5 separate regions of the Homo sapiens genome follow, and all the other regions are linked to region 1. Evidence: promoter capture Hi-C in 16 types of primary human blood cells and fetal thymus (Javierre and others, 2016). All regions are on one chromosome and are shown on one strand. The core of a region is centred on a gene start or on the middle of the fragment in contact, and the rest is flanking DNA. Distances in the headings are between cores, read along the strand shown.

Region 1 (2,700 bases), core at 113-2,612:
CCATCTCAAAAAATACAAAAAAAAACAAAACAAAACAAACCTACTGGAAAGGGGTAGGAATTGGAATCTACCTTCATCACCCCATCATTCACTGGGAAGGAAGGCCAAAGCACCAGGTCAGTGGACAGGACATTTCAGGGGTTAAAGTCTAACTAGCTGAAGATTAACTGGAACAAGCCCGCATAGTCTGACAAAATCATATCTATTGACTGGCAGAAAGGGAGAAAATTCCACAGGAAGGGTTGGAATAGAATGGACGAGAGAGACGAGAAAAGCTCTTTCGTAAACGGTTGAGTTCCAGCTGAAAGATTCTAAGGAGGATCTAATGACAGCTGCAATCTGGAATGGCTGCTGTTTCCGAGGTGAGATTAGGAGAGGCAGGGATTAATGAGATATTGAATGCAATCATGAGTGTAATCAAGAGGGTATCCCCAGTAATAAAATGAAAACAGCAAAGCAAGTCTAGAACATCACTGGTAAGAAAACTGTAATCTCTCAAAGAGGGAGTCATTATGCCATTTTACAACTACTGCACCACCTGGGGAGAAATCATGTTTTCTATTAATTTTGCAACTGGCTTTATCTGTCTCTTCCTTCCTAGCCTGATTAATGACAGAGCTGCTTCATTGTTCAGTCCGAGCTGATTTTCATTCCACAGAAGAGGAAAGCAAATGCCCCCACGCCCAGAAAAAATAAAAATTACACTTCATGGAACAAAACGGAAACACAAACTCATCTGGATGTTGACTTGTCTATATGCAACAGCAATCATTTCCTCCTCTCCCCGCTGCCTTCCTAAAGAACAGCAGGATTGGGAAAGGAGACGGGAATCTTGAGACCGCGGGCCTTTCCTGGAGCCGGCCTTGGCTGAGCAGGACACACCCCCGCTAGCGCACTTGCTCCCTCCGTCTACTGCGCGCAAAACCCGATGGAAATAACAGGGAGCCTGGAATAAAGCTGACCCTTTCCCGTATCAGAGCGAAAGGCCAGGTACACGAAGACGGGGCTGGGATCTGTCTCCGAGTTCCCCGCAGTTTCCATGGGAGGGAGCTCGGGTAAAGCTGTGCAATCTGCAGTTCTTCAGACTGCGTCTTTTTGTTTGGGGGCCTTCATTCACTCCGGGGTTCCTGTATCTAACTCGGAGCCATTCCGGGCCGCTGGACCTGGGCGGCTCTGAAGCGAGAAGGCAGAGGACGCAACAGGGCACCCGGCGCCCAGTCAGCGCCACAAACTCCACAGCTACTGCCTCCTGGCTCACACTGAGGTCTGCGCCGCCCCCGCGCCACCCCCGCGCCCATTGCCTCGGTGCAAGCGACCAACTCACCTCTCGGAGCCGACACCAGCAGCGAAGCCGGAAAGAACTGCGAGCGGAGGCCTGTGGGAAATGTAGTCCGCCGATGGGAGGGACTGGTTCCAGCCCCAACGGGCTGCGCGGAGTGCGCATGCGCGGGGGCCGGAGCCCCGGGTGCGCTCGGGGCGGGAAGGCCCTCCGCGCTGCGTGGGGCTGAGGCGAGCTCGGGCTTGCGTTTGCTTTTGTCGCTGAGGAAGACTTTTATTTGTTTATTTTCTTGAGACAGGGTCTTACTCTGTCGCCCAGGCTGGAGTGCAGTGGCGTGATTAGAGCTCACTGCAGCCGCGACCTCCCGGGCTCAAGCGACCCTCCCACCCGAGCCTCCAGAGTAGCTGGGACTGCAGGCGCGCGCCACCACGCCCAACTCATTTTTTAAGTTTTTATAGAGACCAGATCTCCCTATGTTACCCAAGCCGGTGTCGAACTCCTGGGCTTAAAAGATCCTCCCGCCTGAGCCTCCCAAAGTGCTGGGACTACAGGCGTGAGCCACCAGGCTCAGCCGCGGAGGATTTAGAAAGAAGTTTTGGCACCAGCAGATGCCTAATATGTGTACTAAACACCTACCAGTTACTCACTGCATACACCCAAGCAAGGTGTGGGCACACATCAGGCATGCAATGAAAATACTCTCAAAGCCCACCAGAACCTGGAGCAGGACGTAAACCTAGAAAGGTCGCTCGTGCTCACTGCCCTCTCCCTTTCTCCCACTCTGTCTCTGTCTCTGTGTGTGTGTGTGTGTGTGTGTGTGTGTGTGTGTGTGTGTGTGTCTCGTATCTCCTGCAGTTGTGAATGTATTGTTCTACTAAAAATACAAAAAATTAGCCGGGCGTGGTCGCGCGCGCCTGTAATCCCAGCTACTCAGGAGGCTGAGGCAGGAAAATCGCTTGAACCCGGGAAGCGGAGGTTGCATTGAGCTGAGATCCGCCATTGCACCCCAGCTTGGGCAACAAGAGCGAAACTCCGTTTCAAAAGAAAAAGACTAACTGGAGAGGTCTGTCTCCAATGAGACTGAATTTGTCCTGTCCTGCGTTCCTTCAGGAAAGAAATGGGATAAGCCCACCAGGGACCACCCTGAGGCATCTTCTGTATCCCAAATTCTTTGATATATTAGTTAATACATGAAAGAATTTGTTCTTTCCTTAAGAATATAAAACTTTAGAAGATATTTGAAAATGCCTCGGCAATCTGGTTTCATTTTGCAAACAATAGGATATGCATGAAATAGGAGATAAATGAAAAATCTGAGCTACTTTATAACTACTAAGAAGGTGGCCAGACGCGGTGGCTGACGCCTATAATCCCATCACTTTCGGGGGGCCGAGGCGGGTGGATCACCTGAGGTCAGGGGT
Region 2 (2,700 bases), core at 151-2,650, 1.1 Mb after region 1:
TATGCACACATATAGAACATATGAATGTATACGTATGTATACACAAAGGCGGGGGTGAAAAGATGGAAAGTAAATTTTGACAGTAGTTGCATGGCCTGTAGAACTATGAATGATTTTTGTTCTTCGAGCTTTTCTGTATTTTTCTCCACCCCACTCCACTCCCCAAATGGGGTGGAGTAGGGAAGGAGGAGAATGAGTTTAGTAAGTACACAAAACAACGTAGCTAATACACGAAAATAAAATTAAAAATAAATAAATATTAAAGTGTTGGGGATATCGATGTTTCATATAAAAACATATTTCCGGCCGGGCGCGGTGGCTTACGACTGTAATCTCAGCACTTTGGGAGAACGAGGCGGGTGGATCACCTGCGGTCAGTTGTTCGAGACCAGCCTGACCCACATGGAGAAACCCCGTCTCTACTAAAAATACAAAATTAGCCAGGCGTGGTGGTGCGCCTGTAATCCCAGCTACTCGGGAGGCTGAGGGAGGAGAATTGCTTCTTCCCAGGAGGCGGAGGTTGCGGTGAGCCAAGATCGCGCCATTGCCCTCCAGCAGCCTGGGCAACGAGAGCGAAACTCCATCTCAAAAACAAAAACAAAAAAACAACGTATTTCCAATGACCAAAGCTAAAGACATGCAGCGCTGGCACAAACGCCAAGTCTCACACATCTACACCCACAAGCACACCCTACCTTGTATCCACAGTTTTTCATTCATTCAAGATCCCACTGTCATGCACGTTTGCACGCAGGTTCATACTGAAAGATAAAAGGGAAAGCGCCTCCACGAAATCCGCTTACGGACACGATCCCGGGGCCACACTCAGCCAGACGAATGTCTGGCAAATGACAGTCACTTCACGCCAGACTCTCACAGTCCTTCACACGCCACTCCCACTGCCTCAGGGAACCACAAGCACAGGCATCGCCCCGCCCGGCGTCCTCCTCCAAAGATTGGGGCACCAGGACCGCGGGCCCCCACTCCCACCCAGCACAAAGAGTCCGGCGCTCAGAGCTAGCGGTTTCCCGAGGACTCACCACCAAGCCCGCGGACACAGGCCCCGATTCCACACTTAACGCTGCCAAAGTGGCAGAGCCGGCGCGGGCTGGGACAGAGGCGGCACTGAGGCCGGCGCTGTCGGTGGCTGAGAGCGCCACAAGTCTCGGTCCGTTACACCAGGGGCGACGCTTCCCAGAGGCCCCCGCGGCTCACCCGGGCGGGACTGGCTTCACTGTTTGCGCGTCCTGAGAAGCAGACCACGGTGTTCCAGGGCTCACAGCTCCGCGCAGGGGAGCTCAGCCTAGGTTTTGCACGAGCGGCCTCCCGCGAGCCCAGCTCTGAGAGATTGGGAGCGCAACTTGGTGCTGAGAAGAATCGAATCGTTCCGCTGCTTCCTGCGCCGAACTACATTTCCCAGAGGCCTTCGCGGCCCTACTTCCCCGACCCCACCTGCAAAAAGGCACTTCCTTCTTACAGTCGGCTGGAGCTGCAGGTTCGCAAGGTCCGTGAAGGAAGCCCGGCTCAGTGTGTTTAGTTCCGTCTTTTTGGGTCTCTACCTGAGGCTAGAATACAGCGGGGTGAAGGTGGTGAGAGCTCCAGGGCCAGTGAAGGCCGGGTCAGCTGGAGCCTTAAGGTCCTGACAGCGGCTAGAAGAGGGAGGAGTGACGTAGTGTGACTGTATGTGTGAAACTTCGGCCATGGAATTTGGAGTGGGGTTTCCAGGGCGAGAGACCCTGTCCAGTGACATCTGAGGTCGTGCGAATATGCGACCTTTTGTGTGACCATGGTCGCGTTTTATATTCTCGTGGCTGTTTGATTCTGACCTTGCAGTTTTGTCAGAGACAATGTGCATGTATTTGTTCTTTCTGGACTTCTCGATTGTGAGTGTGACAGTGTTATTGGATTTCATGACCCGGGATCGTGAGCGAAAAGTAGTGTGGCCAGACCGCCTGACTTCTAAACAGACTTGGCCTTACTAGCTGTGTCATCTCAGACTAGGTACTTAACTTCTCTATGCCTTTCGTGTTTTTTTTTTTTTGTTTGTTTTGTTTTTTTTGAGGCAGAGCCTCACTTTGTTGCCCAGGCTGGAGAGTGCAGCGGCGCGATGTTGGCTCACTGCAGCCTCGAACTCCCGGGCTCAAGCGATTCTCTGCCTCGGCCTTCCGAGTAACTGGGACCACAATCAAGGGACACTCCGCCCGGCTGATTTTTGTTTGTTTGTTAGTAGAGATAAGGTCTCGCTATGTTGCCCAGGCTGCTCTCGAACTCCTGAGCTCAAGCGATCCTCCCGCCTGGGCCTCAAAAAGTGCTAGGATTACAGGCATGAGCCGCACGGGGCCGGTCTTAATACCTTTAATAAAGAGATAATAGGCCGGACGCGGTGGCTCACGCCTGTGATCCCAGCACTTTGGGTGGGCAAAGCGCACGGATCATTTGAGGTCACGAGGTTTTTGTTTGTTTGTTTTTTAAGACGGAGTCTTGCTCTGTCGCTCAGGCTGGAGTGCAGTGGCGCGATCTCGGCTCACTGCAACCTCCGCCTCCTTTCGCCTCCCAGGTTCAGGCAATTTTTCTGCCTCAGCCTCCTGAGTAGCTGGGACTTAAGGCGCGTGCCACCACGCCCGGCTAATTTTTTTGTATTTTTAGTAGAGACGGGGTTTCACCATGTTGGTCAGGCTGGTCTCGAACTCCTGACCTCGT
Region 3 (2,700 bases), core at 66-2,565, 1.1 Mb after region 1:
CATCTATCACTGCTACTGCATTCTATTAGTCTCACAGTCCAACCCTGGTACAATGTGGGAGGGAACTACATAAGAGTGTGAATAGTAGGAGGTAGGAATCATTGGGAAACATTTTGAGGTCAGTTATTGTATCAGTTGCTAGGATGACCAGTTGGAATTAGGATTTTTTTAAAAAGCCATTTTCATAAGACAAGGCAATCTTTTCTAGAGATGTTCCAATACCTGTGATATGCGGAGCACTGCGCTAGGTGGTATTCAAGGCAGGCCTGTAGTGAATGCTGTTGGACCCAGCCACCACCCCTGAGCAATCATATGCAGACCGCTGGCTTCTTAACTGCAGACACCTACAGACTCAGCCTAAGACTTTCCCACGAGGCAGGCTCGAAGTGCTGGAGCTTTAACACCTCTGGAGTGGCCCTAAAACAATTAGGAAGAGAGATGGTGTAGACATATGTAAGCTTCATCGGCCTGGTGGTTGTGAAAACTTGGAAGTGGTTTCTACACAATCCCCCAGAGGTCCCAAGCTGACTGAGCCCTCATTGATCCAGAGCTAATCTGCTCACCTATGCACTGTATATTCGTTCCCATCGCTCCCGTCTCACTTCTCCATCCCCCACCTACCAAATAAACTGCTTGCACTCATTCTTTCCTCAGGTCGGCTTCTCGGGCAAGCCTCCTTAGGTAAAAACCTTGCTTTCAACATTTCCTTTCCATTATGCGCTAAGAACTCTGATCTCTTCCCGCTGCGGCAGCCCCGCCCTTTCCTTGCGGCTCCGCCCTTTCCGTGAAGTCACGCCCGTCCTTAGGCTGTCTCTGTCTCCCTAAGAGCGAGTCTCTTCGCTGCTCTCTAACTCCTAGAGCTGGCTCAGAAAGAGTTTCACATTGCCATAGGGGAGCTCCTAGGAGAGGCTGCACCCATTGCACGTAAGAAGCGGTAAAAATGTACGCGGCCATCTTACCAGGCTGCCGGAGACAAAGAAAGCTCAGCTTTGATGTCTGGGCGCCACCATGTTGGCCACAGGAGGTTTTGGCATCTGAGATGCTGAGTTAAGAGCAGAGACGACATCTCTGTTTAGGGATCCAGGGACACTTCCTTCTCCTTGTCCTAAAATAGCCTTATCTTTTGGTCTAGCAAAGGGCTTAATCATCCGTTTTACGGCACAGTTTTAAACATGGCCGCCCCAGGTAGGAGTCAAGTGGGCGTCGCCATCATACCTCCAATTACAGCTTTGAGAAACCCAGAATCCTGTTCACTGGAAGGTTGCCGGGTGGCGGCTGACAGCCTCAAAGTCGCAATTGAGTCTGCGCACCGGCCATTCAGGATGGGACGACCTTATACCGCGGTGAGGCGGCGTGGCAGGACGACCAATTTCAGATTCAGGGCGCGGATGCAGCATAAATGGGAAGGCACGGTTTGAGAAACGGTCAAACCTGGGACTAGTGGAGGATAGTGAGCTGCCGACTACGGTGGCCGACTGGGTCAGCTATGGGTGCCCGTGAGGGTCAATGACAAGGGAACTGAAGGGTTAAGAGATTCGGCGTCTGAGCCTCGCGGGGCCTCAGTGGTGGCGGACAGAGGTTTGCGGGAGTCAGTGGCACGGTCTCTGAAGAAGATGGATTGGGAGTGTGTGGGAATCAATAAATGCGAGTTCTGTGAAATGTCTTGATTTTCAGGGTGCATGGGGTCAGTAATAGTGGTCTTCATGGGTCTGGGGTCAGTTGGGATTTTTCAGACACTGGTTTAGAGATCTTTAAGGTTAATGATCGGAGCCCGAGAGGATCAGTGATCGGAGGTTCTAAGTTCTGTGGGCAGTAATAGTTTGGGTACTGGAATTGGTGATTGTGGAAACTTTGGGGTTCAAATGAGGGAGGTCAGTGGTGATGAATGTTTGGAGAAATGTTTTGGGCCATCGGTGATTGAGACTTACTTCATATCATCGGTGGAGGATCGGAGAGTATTAACGATTGGACTTTTGTAGATCAGGGAATGGAGAATAGAGTCAAGTGTGCTTATCTTAAAGGTACGCCTCAATGAGGCTCAGTGATTCGGACTGTCACTTGTGGGTGGGAGTGGGACTGTGAGAATCAACAATTGATCCTCAGTCGTTGGGATATCATTGGCAATCAGTGTGGATTCATGATTGGGGGCTGTGTAATTTCACTGGCAATCAGATCGGATCGGTGTTCTTTGTAGTTACTGACCTGTAGTCTCTCCTGGTCAGATTTGAACATAGGGGAATATCAGTGACTATGAAAACCTCTGAGGGTTGGAGATTGGAGGCCAGTGATTGGGGGCACTATGCGTGTCTGATTAGGAGACTTATAGGGGTTGGTGTTGAGGGTCCTGAAATGTGGAGATTGGGGATGGGAAAATCACAGATTTGAGGCTGCAAGCCTGCATAGCGGGAACACATTTCACTCAGGTGACACTCCCTAGCTGAATAGCAGCCAGTTCCTCTCCACCAAGGCCCATCTGAAAACTCTTTTTTGAACCCACACCCTTTTTATTGTTCTCTACAATAATGAAAATAATTTGAAAGGATCGCGTGCTAAACTTATCTAAAGTAACATGTTACTAAAGACGTGGCTTCTATTCTTGTTAGGGATCTAATGCATATTTTTTCCTAATGTTTCCTTTAAGGCTCTTTCTGGCAAAGGTAATGACATACGCATCTGTGCCAGCATCCCAAGAGTGAGGCT
Region 4 (2,700 bases), core at 71-2,570, 1.2 Mb after region 1:
AAACCATAAAACATTTGTTTAAATTTAAAGGATTTGTTTAATCTGCCCTATTAATTGCAATTTTCACAGTTAACTAGTACTATTTTTTATTTAAATAATAGTATGTATGTAACAGAATAGTAAAGATGTAACCTGTGGATGCTGTTTTACAGCAGCAGAAACTGGAACACATGCAGTCTCATGATTGTCCTACTCTTTTGCCAGATCATTGCATTGTCTGCCCAGGCACCCCTCATCCCATCTCTCTCCATCCCTTTTCTTACCTTTTCATGTTCCTTGTCTTTTCATGACAGCATTTATCAATGTCTGAAAGTAGAATGTTGTTGATTGACTCTCTCTTCAACTAGAACATAAGCAATGAGCGGCCCAGCCTTTGTCCCACACACTGCAGTGTGTCCCACTTCTAAGAAAGTGTCCAACACACAGCAGGAACTCAGTCAGCATTTCTTGAATGAATTAAGTGAAGTGATGCATACAGGCCACATTCTGAGCTGCTGGAGGAGCCAGTAGTTGATTACCAAACTCTAGTCCTTTATCTTGGTGTCCTGATGTCCTGACTGATACACAGTTTGTAGGCAAATAGCTGGTGGGGTTTAGTAGTATGGGATAGAATAAAGGGAGATGTAATTGGGACACTCTCCACATTATCTGCCCCCATGAAAAGCTAGTTCCAGGTGTTGCCATCTCTGCCCCACACTGGGCTTGCCTTAGTCCTCGTTCCCGCCTTTTCCAGACAGCAGTGCTGAGAAGCAGGAGCCCCTGAGCTTGGAGACGCAGGAAGAGCCCTGGGAGGCCCAGATCAAAGGGAGGCAGTCAGCTCATGGAGCCGAGGAATGTTCTGCTGACACCCACCCCGAGGGTATCCGGTATGTTTCTGTGCACCAGCGACCCCTCCACACCTCACCAGATTGGTTCCCCAGCCCCGTGGGACCCAATTCCGGGTCAATTCCAATTTGATTCCAGTCCAGAATCAAATCAGAAGAGCAATCCCGAGTGCCCACCTCACGGTCTGAAGCACCTCCTCCTACACCCGGACCCAAACACGAGGTCGGCTCAAGGAGGCACTGAGGTCACGACAGTCAGGGTCCTGCGCTGCTTGTCGCATGCAGTCTCCTTCCCCGAACCGCCGCCTGCACGGCCTCCACTGTTTTCCTATTGGGCTGCAGCCTGAGAGCCCTGACAATGCGGCCCACAAACCGGGAACGCGAAAGTGCACGTACCAGGCGCGATCACCAGGCGCTAGCGCTGAGGGGGGACTCGCGTCACAGTAACCGCCACCGTTGCCGGGGGACTGGCCCCAGCGGCTTGGCCCCCAGGCGTCTGTGGCAGTGCGTCCCCTCTCCGCGGGATCGTCGCCATGGTCCTGCGATCCTAGGAGTCGGGCAAGGCCGAACCTGCCTGAAGAAACCTCAAGCGGAGATTCAAGGAAGCACCACGTGATCCCTAAGGATCCCAAAGATGCGTCGGGCATGCATGGGCGGTGTGAGGGTGCGTCTCCCTGACAGGTGTCCCCGCTGGGATTTCGAGGTACGGCCTGCCTGTGTTCCCCGGGGCGCTCTCTTTCCGGAGGGGTTTCCTGGCAGAGAGCAGAACCGCGCAGCCTCAGGAGCTGCCTGGCTGTGTGTGTTTCTGTGCGACTGTTGGATGTTTCCGTGTGTCTTTCTGTGTGTGCGTGTGAGTGTGTGTGTGGTGTGCGGTGAAAGAAATGTGGCTCGTGCAGTGAAGCGCGGTTTCTCTGTAGTTCGCCTACGCTCTGATGCGCCCGTCTCTTTGGCCGGGCTTGGGTTGCGGGGCAAGCGTTCTTTGTTTCGCTCTTGGTTCCTAAAGCCTCGGTGAAGTGGGGGGCTGGCTGCGACCCGCAAACGTCCAAATCACCTCCCCTCCCAAGCCGCCCACTCTTCCAGAAAGAAGACCAGCACACGACAACCAAGAACAAATTCCTCCAGGGGCCCATGGTCCTGCGGCACACCCAAGGCTGGACGGACCCTAGCTGTCCTGTCCTCAGTACCCCCTTGAGCCCACTTCTAATTCGGTGGCTGGCGGAGTCGCAGCTTCAGGACCTGAGGCGGGCACTCCTTCATCCTCTTCAGATTTCATTCTGGATTAAAGGATGTGTGCAGAAAAAAGGTCAGATGGGGGTGAAGATACAATCCGCTGAGGTGTGGAGGAGGTCTCGCACCTTCACCTGCAGAACAGGTGCAGACAGATGTCAAAGAAACTGTTTCCAACGCCATCCCCTTTTCCTCTTCACTGTACAACCTGTCCACACCATGGCGCTGTGCTGGCGATAGAAGACACGAGTGTTCGGAGAACCTTTGGACCGAAGACTGTCGCCTTTCTGGCCAGGTCCCCTGTTGGACCCTGGTTCCCCGAGGCACATGGGAGTGGGATGGATTGATCCTGCCTGGGCTGCGGCCTCTACTCTGTTCTCCCTCTTTTCTTGCCTTCCCTGATTCTCGTCGGCCCAGGTTTTCCTTGGTCTGGCTCACAGTCCTCCAGAACGTCCTTCACAGCAAATGTTTCCCAGTTCGTCCAGGACCACCTTGGCGGGGACGTAGGTGATGAGTGTTTCCTTCTCAACACTCACATTTCTTAATGACTGGGTAGCTGTGATGCTCTTGGAACCGTGGGTGCCCGTAGCTTTCCCCAATAAGGAAACTCTTGGTCTCCCCATTGCATCAGATGGCTGCATGATTCACA
Region 5 (2,700 bases), core at 112-2,611, 1.3 Mb after region 1:
ACAACACCGTAAAGTATACACTATTACAATTCTGAGGAAATTGAAGCACAGATTGCTTAAACTCGTTCAGATTTAAGTGGCAGTCAGGATTCAATTCCACTTAATCTAGGCTCGAAATTCTTAACCACTACACTACACCTCCCTCAGTCGATCCAAGATATACCCAAAATAAACTCATGCTGCCAGACCTCAAACCACATCTGGCTGGTACCAAAAACTTCCACTCATGAATTTCCTGGAAAAAAAGAAATCTCCACTCCTACCCCAGAACCATTAAACATATCTAAACCCTAAAAAACAAATAAAAACAAAGTATGAACATTAATCTCCAGCACGGGTATTTCCATATCATCAAGATCCTTAGAAAAACAGCGCTCACAGAGTAATTGAATTTGCAGCCTACAGTTAACTAACCATGTGTCTAACTATAGAACAGCATGAAGTGGGCACTAACAACGGGAAATCTATTAATTAGGTCCCCTGCCGTTAACTAGGTAGGGAAATCCTAAGGCCCAAATCAATGAATAAATAGATCATTCCTAAGCAGGATTTTAAACGGAAGGAACTCGAATGCATTTCACAGAAACAAAGCAGCAGCACGAACTCACAGGGAACCGGCTTTTAGAAGAGCAGCAGCGATTCGTTTCTCCTTCTCAAGCGCCTTCTCTGGAAACTGGCAGGGCTGGGGAAGCAGGCAGAGTTCAGGACACCCCAGGCTTTTCTTGACTCGATTGGAACCCACCCTCCACGCTTCCCTGGCCCCAACTAACCGCCACCTGCATGCACAAATGGAAACGACAGGGCAGAGGGTCAGCAGTCACCCGCGTCTGGGTTCGCAGCTCCGGGTACGCTGTAGTTCCGCACCCGGTTGCCCACGCCCGGGACCACCCACTGTGTCTTTTCGGAACTGTCCAGCGTGTCCTCCTAGACCCCAGACACCCACCCCAAATCTAGGTCCCAGCGTTTTGCAGGGGACCTTCATCCTGGGGCGTTCACCTCTGACTTCCCTCTTGGGCCTTTTCGCTACGGCCGAGCCTAAGTGGCTGAAGCGCGGACGAGGATGCGCGGGGCCTCGGTCTCCAACTGCACCACAGGCCGCACCCACGAACCTGGTCCGGCACAGTTACTACCGCCCGGGCCTCCAGGCCTCAGGGCTGCAGAAGCTCAGTCCCGGGAAAAAAAGCACACCGGCCTGAGGCTCCACAGGAACCTTTTCTCCACCTTGGCCCGGCCTGCAAAACCTGGCCCACTCCGCGCTCTTTTCCCTCAGAAAAGCAGCGGCCACAGTGGCGCCCGGCTCCCAGCCCCAGCCTCACCCGACTCAGAGGATAGCCCAGCCCTGGGAGTCAGCGGCGCCAGAATACGGGAGAGCGCCTGTCTCCGTCGCGAATGCGCTAGCGCGCGGGGGGGCGGAGGCAAGTCCCGCAGCTGCTCCGGGCCGGGAGGGGCGCGTGGGGCCGGGTCTCGGCGGGGATAGTCGGGCCGGGGAGACGGAGCCAGAGGGGCCGCAGTGTCCCTCGCCTCAGGCCTCTACCTGTAATGGCCGCCCCGTGACTGACCAGTGCCATTAAAGATAATCCAGGCCTGCTCCCCTGTGGACACTGCGGTCCAAAATTTAAAAAAACAATATTCCGCCTTTTTATTTTTCATTTGGTTCTCGGCTCGGAGACAGGCGGAGGCTGCGAGCCCCGCCCCGCCCCCAGCGACGCCTCACCGGAACCTTTGGAAATCGGCTTCTGCCTCGAGTGCGCAAGCGCGCGGGGGGCGAACGCTGGGGCCCTTCAGGGAGCAAGGGAGAAGTGTGGGGCCGCACCTGCCGAGGGGTCGGGAGGTTTGGAGGAGGGTGGAGGTTGGCTACAGGATCCCGATGGGGATGGAGTGTTCAAATCTAGGCCTGTAGCCGTGACCCTGGCGTGAGTTGGATGGAGGAAACCCCAGTATCGCGAGCCTGGACCAAGGCGCGGCGCGTGCTGCCTGTGGTGTTTGCTGAGTGACGGCCGCCGCGCCCCCGCGTACCTGGACCGAGTGCCTGGCCGCTGGCGGAGTAGTGTTTCCGTGCACGGGGCTGCTGCGTGCGCGTGTGCCGTTCTCTAGCGGGGGATTAGGATGGTGCCGCAGAGAAGGCTGCGCGGTGGTGCCTGACTCTGACGCTGGCTGTAGCGGGTCTCTGGGGTCTTTGCGGTTTGTGTCTGCGTTTGTGACGTACCTGACATCGGATCTGTGACTGTGGCTCTGCCTCATCCAGCGTTATTTCCAGAATCCTTCTGATAGGGCAGCGCTTCTGGTTCTGGTTTTCCATGGAGACGGTTTGTGGGTCCCTATGAAACTGAGTGTTGGGATTTTGATTATCTGCATCTGGCCCTTGTGTGCCCTCAGGACTGTGGTGTTAGGCAAGTAAAATAATTGCAGGAAAAAAAATTGGAAAGGAATAAGGTTGCTATTACTTCCAAATGATGGAATTGTAGGACTGTGTCAGAAAATTGAATAGGACACCATGAAACGGGAGGGAGAGGCATTTTATTTTCTTCCATACCTGGTCTTGGAATATTCTAACAAATGAGATTTGTTTTTTCCCCTTTGTTCCTGGATGAACTCTTGGATAAATTCAATGTCTCCAAGCATTCTTGGATAGTAAGTTTCTTTGATCTTTAGTTGAAAGATCAGCCTCATTTTCGTAGCTAAAAATACCTTTAGTAATAA

The links. Contacts are between HindIII fragments. The CHiCAGO score rates a contact against its expected background, and 5 or more counts as called.
Region 2: a contact is called between the fragment with the promoter of ZNF569 here and the fragment with the promoter of ZFP14 in region 1, in 2 of 17 cell types (naive CD8 T cells and non-activated CD4 T cells). The highest score is 11.3, in naive CD8 T cells.
Region 3: a contact is called between the fragment with the promoter of ZNF793 here and the fragment with the promoter of ZFP14 in region 1, in 5 of 17 cell types (total CD4 T cells, naive CD8 T cells, activated CD4 T cells and 2 more). The highest score is 14.7, in total CD4 T cells.
Region 4: a contact is called between the fragment with the promoter of ZNF571-AS1 here and the fragment with the promoter of ZFP14 in region 1, in 5 of 17 cell types (naive CD8 T cells, fetal thymus, total CD4 T cells and 2 more). The highest score is 7.1, in naive CD8 T cells.
Region 5: the fragment with the promoter of ZFP30 here is called in contact with the fragment with the promoter of ZFP14 in region 1 in 4 of 17 cell types (naive CD8 T cells, total CD4 T cells, non-activated CD4 T cells and 1 more); the score reaches 7.3 in naive CD8 T cells.

What each region holds. Positions count from the first base shown.
Region 1 is chr19:36,377,839-36,380,538 of GRCh38, forward strand. ZFP14 (ZFP14 zinc finger protein) reads right to left here and starts at 1,363. Exons shown (of 5, transcript NM_020917.3): 1 at 1,325-1,363. RefSeq lists a silencer at 1,470-1,559. The HindIII fragment of the contact is 12,200 bases long and covers 1-2,700 here.
Region 2 is chr19:37,466,044-37,468,743 of GRCh38, forward strand. It overlaps ZNF569 (zinc finger protein 569), which reads right to left and starts at 1,401. Exons shown (of 6, transcript NM_152484.3): 1 at 1,041-1,401. It also overlaps a transcript of ZNF570 not described here. RefSeq lists an enhancer at 1,222-1,271. The HindIII fragment of the contact is 12,295 bases long and covers 1-2,700 here.
Region 3 is chr19:37,505,624-37,508,323 of GRCh38, forward strand. ZNF793 (zinc finger protein 793) reads left to right here and starts at 1,316. Exons shown (of 8, transcript NM_001013659.3): 1 at 1,316-1,343; 2 at 2,642-2,700. It overlaps ZNF793-AS1 (ZNF793 antisense RNA 1), which reads right to left and starts at 1,464. Exons shown (of 3, transcript NR_110723.1): 1 at 1,216-1,464; 2 at 223-417. RefSeq lists enhancers at 234-1,025, 1,026-1,817, 1,383-1,532. The HindIII fragment of the contact is 7,284 bases long and covers 457-2,700 here.
Region 4 is chr19:37,547,629-37,550,328 of GRCh38, forward strand. ZNF571-AS1 (ZNF571 antisense RNA 1) reads left to right here and starts at 1,321. Exons shown (of 6, transcript NR_038248.1): 1 at 1,321-1,527. LOC124904708 reads right to left here. Exons shown (of 2, transcript XR_007067248.1): 1 at 264-2,700. The HindIII fragment of the contact is 14,204 bases long and covers 1-2,700 here.
Region 5 is chr19:37,654,104-37,656,803 of GRCh38, forward strand. It overlaps ZFP30 (ZFP30 zinc finger protein), which reads right to left and starts at 1,362. Exons shown (of 6, transcript NM_001320669.3): 1 at 1,317-1,362; 2 at 609-776. RefSeq lists a silencer at 1,318-1,507 and enhancers at 1,531-2,518, 1,918-1,967. The HindIII fragment of the contact is 13,390 bases long and covers 1-2,700 here.